Regions from separate parts of the Homo sapiens genome. Here region 1 is linked to region 2. The links are contacts of gene promoters, found by promoter capture Hi-C in blood cells and fetal thymus (Javierre and others, 2016). All regions are on one chromosome and are shown on one strand. The core of a region is centred on a gene start or on the middle of the fragment in contact, and the rest is flanking DNA. Distances in the headings are between cores, read along the strand shown.

Evidence for each region. The method cuts DNA at HindIII sites, captures the fragments that hold promoters and counts their contacts. A CHiCAGO score of 5 or more calls a contact.
Region 1: the fragment with the promoter of SLC2A13 here is called in contact with the fragment with the promoter of ZCRB1 in region 2 in 4 of 17 cell types (naive CD4 T cells, non-activated CD4 T cells, total CD8 T cells and 1 more); the score reaches 8.4 in naive CD4 T cells.

What each region holds. Positions count from the first base shown.
Region 1 is chr12:40,104,190-40,108,171 of GRCh38, forward strand. It overlaps SLC2A13 (solute carrier family 2 member 13), which reads right to left and starts at 1,892. Exons shown (of 10, transcript NM_052885.4): 1 at 1,064-1,892. The coding sequence starts at 1,619. RefSeq lists silencers at 1,326-1,415, 1,426-1,495, 1,516-1,775, 1,796-2,045, 3,427-3,556 and an enhancer at 3,046-3,215. The HindIII fragment of the contact is 3,714 bases long and covers 1-3,135 here.
Region 2 is chr12:42,323,421-42,327,389 of GRCh38, forward strand. It overlaps ZCRB1 (zinc finger CCHC-type and RNA binding motif containing 1), which reads right to left and starts at 2,674. Exons shown (of 8, transcript NM_033114.4): 1 at 2,504-2,674; 2 at 599-684. The coding sequence starts at 682. It overlaps PPHLN1 (periphilin 1), which reads left to right and starts at 2,747. Exons shown (of 10, transcript NM_201439.2): 1 at 2,747-2,809. It overlaps MIR7851 (microRNA 7851), which reads right to left and starts at 439; the gene lies at 280-439. RefSeq lists an enhancer at 2,370-2,419. The HindIII fragment of the contact is 1,786 bases long and covers 1,921-3,706 here.

The DNA.
Region 1 (3,982 bases), core at 642-3,141, 2.2 Mb before region 2:
AAGGGAAACAAAAAACTGAATTATGAAACGAAACATTAAAAAAGCATCAGCGGTGTGTCTTAGAAAAATTACTAGTGAGATTTAAGTCACAGCCCCCCACTTTCCCTCAAAAGTGCTTTCTAATAATACAGAGCACATTCCAAATAGCTTCCCTCTGCCAAAAACTTGCCAATTGTACCTCCCCTGCTCAGCAACCAGGGTGAAAAAAATTCAACGCCAGGAGAACCTTAATGCCTTCATTTTTGAAGTAAATTCCAAACATTTATCTTGCGGGGCATTTATCCACAGGGGGAGTAGCTCCTAAATGAATTAAGGAAGTGAATATGACCTTTAATAGATAATTTGGTTCCCAACTGGAAAGCAGGAGAGGAAAAACAAAGAGGAGAATGGATAAAAAAGGATTCAAATGAAAAAGTTGGAAAAACAGAGGAGAATGGAATTTACTTGGGAAAAGAATGAAAGCTGAAAGGCAATAGAAAAAGCATAAAAGCAAAAGGAGATGCCATCTAAAGACAAATGCTAGATAAGCAAAGAGGGCAGGGGTCGCTAATAAACCTTTCAGAGTCCAGAATTACTTAACTCTAAATATTATCTCACTGTAACTTGACGATGGTCTAGGTTCCAGGCTGGGAGCCCCAGAAAACGAAAGGGGCTAGCAGTGGAGAGGCAAGGTGGGACAGTGCAGGAAAGCAGAGACCCTCGTAAGCTCAAGAAGCAGCATCAGGTTAGGCTGGATCAAGGAAAGAGCTGGTGCTCAGCTAGGTTTCTGGAAGTGCTGAGAGGCAACAACCACTTGGACTGACTGGTCCGTGGCCTATCAAAGATTCCACGTGCGCTCGAGGGAGACTAGAGTGACACCCCCTCCCCCCCGACCCTCCCACCTCCCGGGAGAGCCTTGGAGGCTGGACCAACAAACAGATGGGCTCTGGAGGCCAGAGAAGTGGAGGATTCTCTGACCCTGGGAGACCAGACGGGGACCCCGATGGGCAAGAGGCACGCAACACCCAGGGTCAAGGGCGGTGACAATGGGATCCCGGGCGCCCTTCACGGAGCCCGAACTCACCGATGCCGAGTCCCACGACCAGGCGGCCGGCGAGCAGTGTCTCCTTGTTGTTGGCCGCAGCCAGCACCGCGGAGCCGGCGGTGAAGAGGGCACTGGCCAGGAGGATGGCAGCGCGGCGGCCGAAGACGCCGTTGAGGGCGCCTCCGGCCAGCGCCGAGACGGCAGCCGCCCCCACCGTGCTGGACACCAGCAGCTCCTGCCACAGCGCGTCCAGACTGAGCTGCCGCTTGAGCAGCAGCATGGCCCCTGACACCACCCCGGTGTCATAGCCAAACAGGAAGCCGCCCAGCGCGGAGAAGACGGCCACCACGTACACGAAGGCGGGGGTCTCGTCCTGCTGGAACTGCCGCCGCGCCGCGCGCTCCAGGTCCCCGACGCCGCCGCCGCCCGCGCCCGCGCTCTGCAGGCTGGTGCTCGATTCGGCGGCAGCCAGGAGGCTGCACTCCCCGGCCGCGCTCGCCGCGTCCGGCTCCGGCTGCTTCCTGCGCCGCTCGCCCATCAGGCTGCTCAGGCTCCGCAGCGTGTACTCCACATTCTCGCTTGCCTTGCGGGACATAGGGCAGGGGCCCGGGGCTGCCCGGGGGGACGCGGCTCCGCGGGCCGGCAGTCTCGGCGAGCTAGACAGCCCGAGCCGGCGGGAGCAACCGCCGCTGCCGCCGCTTTCTTCCTCCCGGCTTCCGCTCCGGCTGCCACGGCAGCAGCCGCCGCCACGGCCGCTCCGGGGAGAAAGTTGCTGCCCGCCGCGCTCCGACGCTGCGGAGTTGGAGCCCGGCGGGTCTCACTCCACACTCACGCCCCGCGCCTGCCGAGCTGGCGCTGCGGAGCGGGCGGGAGGCGGGACCGCGGGTCACGTGCAACCCCGGGCCGGCGGGGCGGGGCCCGGGAAACGTCCCGCCCCCTCCTTGGGCGGGGCCAGGCTCAGCCCGCCCCGGACCCCTAAACCCCGCCCTCCCGGTGGGTGCGACCTCTGACCTAGGCTCCCTCATTTAGGGCTCTGGCAACCGTATGGAATTAACCCTGCCTTCCGAGCTGCAGCGGTGGAGCAAGCCAATGTGGCGATGCCATCAGGCAACAGGCTTCCAGACGGGAAGCCACCCAGAATGTTTGCCGTGTTTGGAGAGGAGGGAGAGAGCACCTAAACCAGCCTCACTGTCCTTCCAGCAGCCTAGAGAGAGGGCTGGAAAAAATATCCTAGAATAGGACCTAGCAAGTACCCTTCCTTTTATAGTATTGTGACATTACCCAGCGTGGTCTACTTCCCTGGCATTAAATGTGTTTGTTCTGGAGCAATTCAGGGCTGCATGCTCCCATTTCTATAGCTAGTTTCCACTCTCATCGCCAGTCCCTCCTCAATTTATGCTTATTTTAAAGGAATGGTACATTTGATTCTTTGAGGACAGAGAACATATCTCTGTGGTGAATCCCAAACCCTCCTTCCATGGATCCCCGACCTGTAAAAGAAAATTCACATATATGCATTCCACTCATGTAACGGGTAATTCCCAGAAATAGAAAGAAAACTCAAGACCCTGATTTGTGATTCGGCAGGCAGTCTCCATTTCCCCGCCCCAACATGCTAACCAAAAGGTAGGATAGCTTCTCTCCTGAGAATCCCCACTGTTGCCCTCCATGAGGCACTGTTTTAACAGCCTCATTTACTTGAAACAAAGCAAAGATAACGTTATTTGCAACCAATTTTTTAAACTGTTGAGTGAATTAACAGTTGTTGGTTCATTTGGGGTTTGTTTCCCCCTTTAATTTAAATGTTTTTAAAATATACAGTTGCGCATCAGGGGCTAAAGATAGTTTGTTTTGTTTTGTTTTGTTTTTGAGACAGATTCTCGCTCTGTCGCCCAGGCTGGAGTGCAGTGGCGCTATCTCGGCACACTGCAGCCTCCGCCTCCCAGGTTCAAGCGATTCTCCTGCCTCAGCCTTCCTAGCAGCTGGGACTGCTAAAGATGTTTTGTGCCTCTAATTTGCTTTCATTCTTCAGGCTGAGGGCAAAAAGTCAAGCATCATATGATTCTATTCCTACAATTCCACTGCTCTTTTATTTCCCTTATTTGAGCAAAAGCTTTCTTAGCCTGGGGCCTATTTTTCATGCAGCTATAACTTTTTTCCTTTCAGACAAAAGGATTTTGTCATTCCTGTTTCAGTAAAAACTTATATTAGAATTTGTCAAAACTGCTTTCGTTTTGATTATCAGTCACGATTATCTCTACAATATAGTACTTTCCTTGCCAGCAACAAGGAAAAATAAACTAATGAAGCCAGACGGCTTAACTATTTAAATGTTATCGTCTGGCTTTAAAGCAAGGCTCTACCGTCATTCCCAGGCATCAGTTAAACAGAGAGAGCCTTTAGATCTGCAGCAATGAACTCTTTAATATTCAGACCTCGGACAATATTGCAGGTGAGAGCGCGCCTTTTCCGCGGCATGCTACGGTATAGTAAAACTGCGCCCCCTGGTGGTGAGCCAATTCCCACGGCTTCTGAAGAGAAGGGCTCCGCAGATGAGAAGCATCTGGTTCTTTGACAGTTCCCTCTTGCTGAGATGAAAATAAACTACTTTTTGTCTCAGCTGGTGCAGTGAACATCTTGGTTCCTGAGCATTCCTTGCTTGAAATTCAGCTTTGGGGTCATAGAACAAGAAACTACTTTAAAAATTCTGTTCCGTATTAGGACAGTTATGTATCTGCGGTCAGGTTACATTTTAAAAGAAATGTGACGTGAAAAAAAAGGCATCGGAGGCCGGGCGCGGTGGCTCACGCCTGTAATCACAGCACTTTGGGAGGCTGAGGCGGGTGGATTACGGGGTCAGGAGTTCAAGACCAGCCTGGCCAACGTGGTGAAACCCTGTCTCTACTAAAAATACAAAAGTTAGCCGGGCATGGCGGCACGCGTCTGTAATCCCAGCAA
Region 2 (3,969 bases), core at 1,424-3,923:
TACTCGTTTCAGGTCTTTATTCAAAAGTCACCTTCTCAATAATGGCATTTCTGACCGCCCTATGTAAAATTTCACTTCCATTCCCAACTTAACGTTCAATAGCCCACCTTTCCTGCGTTATTTTTTCTCCTTAGCACCTAACATCTTAGCATCTCCTTAGTATCTAACACATAATTTGACTTAAATGTTCAATAAATATAGCTTCTATTTTTTTTTCTTTTTTTTTTTTGAGACAGGGTCTCATTCTGTCACCCAGGCTGGAGTGCAGTGGTGTGACCTTGGCTCACTGTCGCCTCGACCTCCTAGGCTCAAGCAATCTTCCAACCTCAGTCTCCCAGGTAGCTTGTAGAGGCATGGTGGCACACACCTGTATTCCCAGCTACTTGGGAGGATGAGGTGGGAGGATCACCTGAGGGGGCGGGGAGGCTGCAGTGAGCCATGATAGTGCCACTGCACTACAGCCTCGTGCCTCAGTGACAGAATTAGACTGTCTCAAAAAAAGAAAAAAAAAAAAAGGAAAAAAGAATTTGCCAGGGAGAACTATTTGCTTAAGGTTATCTGTATCTCAAATAGCAGTCACTCGATAAGATTTACTTACCCGGTACAAGTCATTGTTTGTCAGGGAAAAAGGCAAGTTGGATACATACACTGTGCTCTTACTTGGAGCCAATCCACCACTCATTTCTAAAAGTGAAAACAAACTTATCAGCAATCAGTCTAAACCAGGATTCTTTTTTTGTTGTTTGAGACGGAGTTTCCCTCTTGTTGCCCAGGCTGGGGTGCAATGGCGTGATCTCGGCTCACTGCAACCTCTGCTTCCCAGGTTCAAGCAATTATCCTGCCTCAGCCTCCCGAGTAGCTGGGATTATAGGCATCCACTACCATGCCTGGCTAATTTTGTATTTTTAGTAGAGACAGTGTTTCACCATGTTGGTCAGGCTGGTCTTGAACTCCTGACCTCAAATGATCCACCTGCCTCAGCCTCCCAAAGTGCTGGGATTACAGGCATGAATCACCACACCTGGCCTAAACCAAGTATTATTAATTCCAAATAAAACCAATACATCAGACCAGTCTGGGTATTATTTGGAAAAAAACAAAAAACAAAAACCAATAAAGTATTAACAATCACCGATTTAATTATGCCAGATGTGTACACCTTCCTTACATTTTAGGAAGTTAGGAACAATGACTCCAGCAGGCTGAATTAAGGAATTCCTTTTTCCCAGTCACCACTTAAAAAAAATTCTTTTTTGGTTCTTCTTCTTTCAAGTATTCTTTATACCAACACTTTCAGTGCCAGATTGTATGGGTAGGGAGACGGGTTTTGAACAGATGAAGGAAAAACCCTGAGGCTACTCCTAACTTCCACTCAGACCATGAGCAAAAAAAATGCTCTATTGAATATGTACTGTATATGTACATTACCTGCACCTTGCTCACCCAGGTCAGAAAGAGCATGGGGACTCAGACAGAACCTTAGCCACTGATTTTTGCTAATACACAGTCATGCTATGCTTAATGAAGGAGGTATGTTCTGAGTGTTACGTGATTTCACAGTGCAGACATCACAGGGTGTACTGAGACAAACCTAGATGGTCTAGCCTATTGCTCCTAGGCTACAACCTGTACAGCATGTTAATGTAGTGAATAATGTAGACAGTTGAAACACAATGGTAAATATTTACATAGCTAAACACAGAAAACGTACACTAAAAATATGGTACAATGTATTACACTCTTAGGAGACCACTGTGGTATATGTGGTTTGTTGTTAATCAAAAAGTTGTTATGCTGTGCATGCCTGTACTATGGCTGGGTACCTTTTTTGCTTGTCTTAATATTTTTTTTCTCTGGAGTGGTGTGTTAAGAGGAAAATTTTCTTTTCCCCTTTTAGTATGATGTTAAGGAGTAAATTTAAGCTTTATGTATCGACAATATAAACTTCTTTCGAAACGCTAATTTTGCTTATTGCCAAATTATGAAATGATACATTATATAAATAGGCTTGGTGCCTCGAAGAGACAGACCTGTAGGTATGTGTGTATATGTATATAAAGTTTACAAATGTAATCAGTAATTTTCACATCTTATCTTACAAAGTCAGCAAATTACCGTGAAAATATCAGGCTCAACCAAATTCAAATTTCTGATTTAAAAAGAGCGTGCGGTGTGTATTTGAGATGGGAAGATCAACCATCACAAATGGAAAAATACTGACTCTATGGCATGCCAATTCGTGAAGGAATGAGAAAACTGCCTCATGTTTGGTGTTATGGGGGAATTATTTAGAAAACTTCAGGAACTCAACATAGATACGTCGCTTTTTAAGTTTCTCATTTGAAACTATGCGTTACACGTTCTGCTGAGAGCCGCGAAGGCAGGCAGAGGTTAAGGTCCTGGAATAAAAAGGGTGGCGGGAGAGAGGGGCAGAGCGTTTTGGCAGCCGAGTCTGGGGAGGGGGCCCCGCAGGAGAGAAGGCCGCAGCTGAGGAGGCGTTTACCTTCAGGTGGGTTGGGCCTGGGAGACCAGAAGAGTGCGAGCCCTCGGCTCAGCTGGGGCTCAACCCCGACTCTTCGTAGCCGCTCGCAGCGGCCTTGGCATCACGAGTCCTGGGAGGGGTCAGGCGCGGAGAGCAGATAATAGCAGCCACGGTGCTTCTTCCCGACTGTTTGAGATCCGGGCCCCGAAGGCGGGCCCAGAGGCGAGCGCTTCGCTAACGTCATTGCGCGCGCCGGAAGTACCTACCTGGGATAACGGCGGCGAGCGGACGGCTGCATTTACGGGGTCTCCCGGAGGGCCAGAGTCGGTGAGCGCTTTTTACCTTTCCCAGAGATGGATGCAGAGCGTGTGCGGGCTGCTAAACGGGGGGGAGTGGGCGGGAGTTTTCTGTGTCGGGTCCTGGATTCTCCTGCCTTTGAATTGTGTGACAATTCTGCCCATGCGGTTGAGGGTGGAGAGACGCAGTGGAGTTTGGAATAAAGGGAAGTATTGAGTCTAAGATAGGGGTTCGCCTCTCTGTAGCGCCTTAATATGCAAGAAGACGACTGAGCTAGGTAACTTCAGTGACCCGAGAGGAGTCAGGAAGTCGGTAATTTTACTGAAGGTGTTCACGGTACCCAGCTATTAGGCACTTTGGGAACTACAAAATAAACAGACCTTTTATGTTTTGTTTTGTTTTGTTTTCTGGTGAAGATCTCAGTCTAGTTGGGGAGACGAGGTCAACTTGGGGAGAGTTGGATTCACAGAATGACTCATCTTTAGTATGGGTATGGACAAGTGTTGATCTTCTTGGCACCTTTTCTCTTCCTGTAAATCTATAATGGCTACGCACTGCTTTTTCTCTAAGAGGCCATAACATGCCCACCATTCCTACAGAAAAATCAGAACGTAATGCAAGGTAATTTATACTTCTGCCTACCAGCACATACAGACCAGGCCTCTAACCACTCCCTGGGAGCCTGCGTTCCAGCAGCCTGGAACCCACAGCCTCTCCTGGAGCCTGCACAATCAATCCAGAGTGAAGCCGATGTCTTCTATAGAGACGGAAGTACAATCCATCCAGGGCGCAGCTGAATTTTGAGAGGCCTGAATGCCTCCGTGGCCGACAGGAGACCGCTGGCACTAATTCTCTAGGCATACTTGTGGCCAGCCAAACTTACCATGCTTTACATCTCTGTTATCCTTGGTTACCGCCCAAGATGTAAGCTTCTGTGGTCTTCTGTGCTATAGTCTCATTTCCATGCTGCTTTGTGCTTTCTTTCGACTTAGGCTATCACTGCTTCTTCGTTTCTTCCCCATTTAACCCCTCAACACCCCATCTGTGCTTTCTGAAACCTCTATTTCCTGCTTAAACTATTTTACATATTCAACTTCTTTAGTGAAATTCTCCTTCATCTCCTAACCTTAACTATTGATAACACGTAGATTTTCCTGCCAGCCATTTCAGTTGAGCCCTTTCTCTGACCC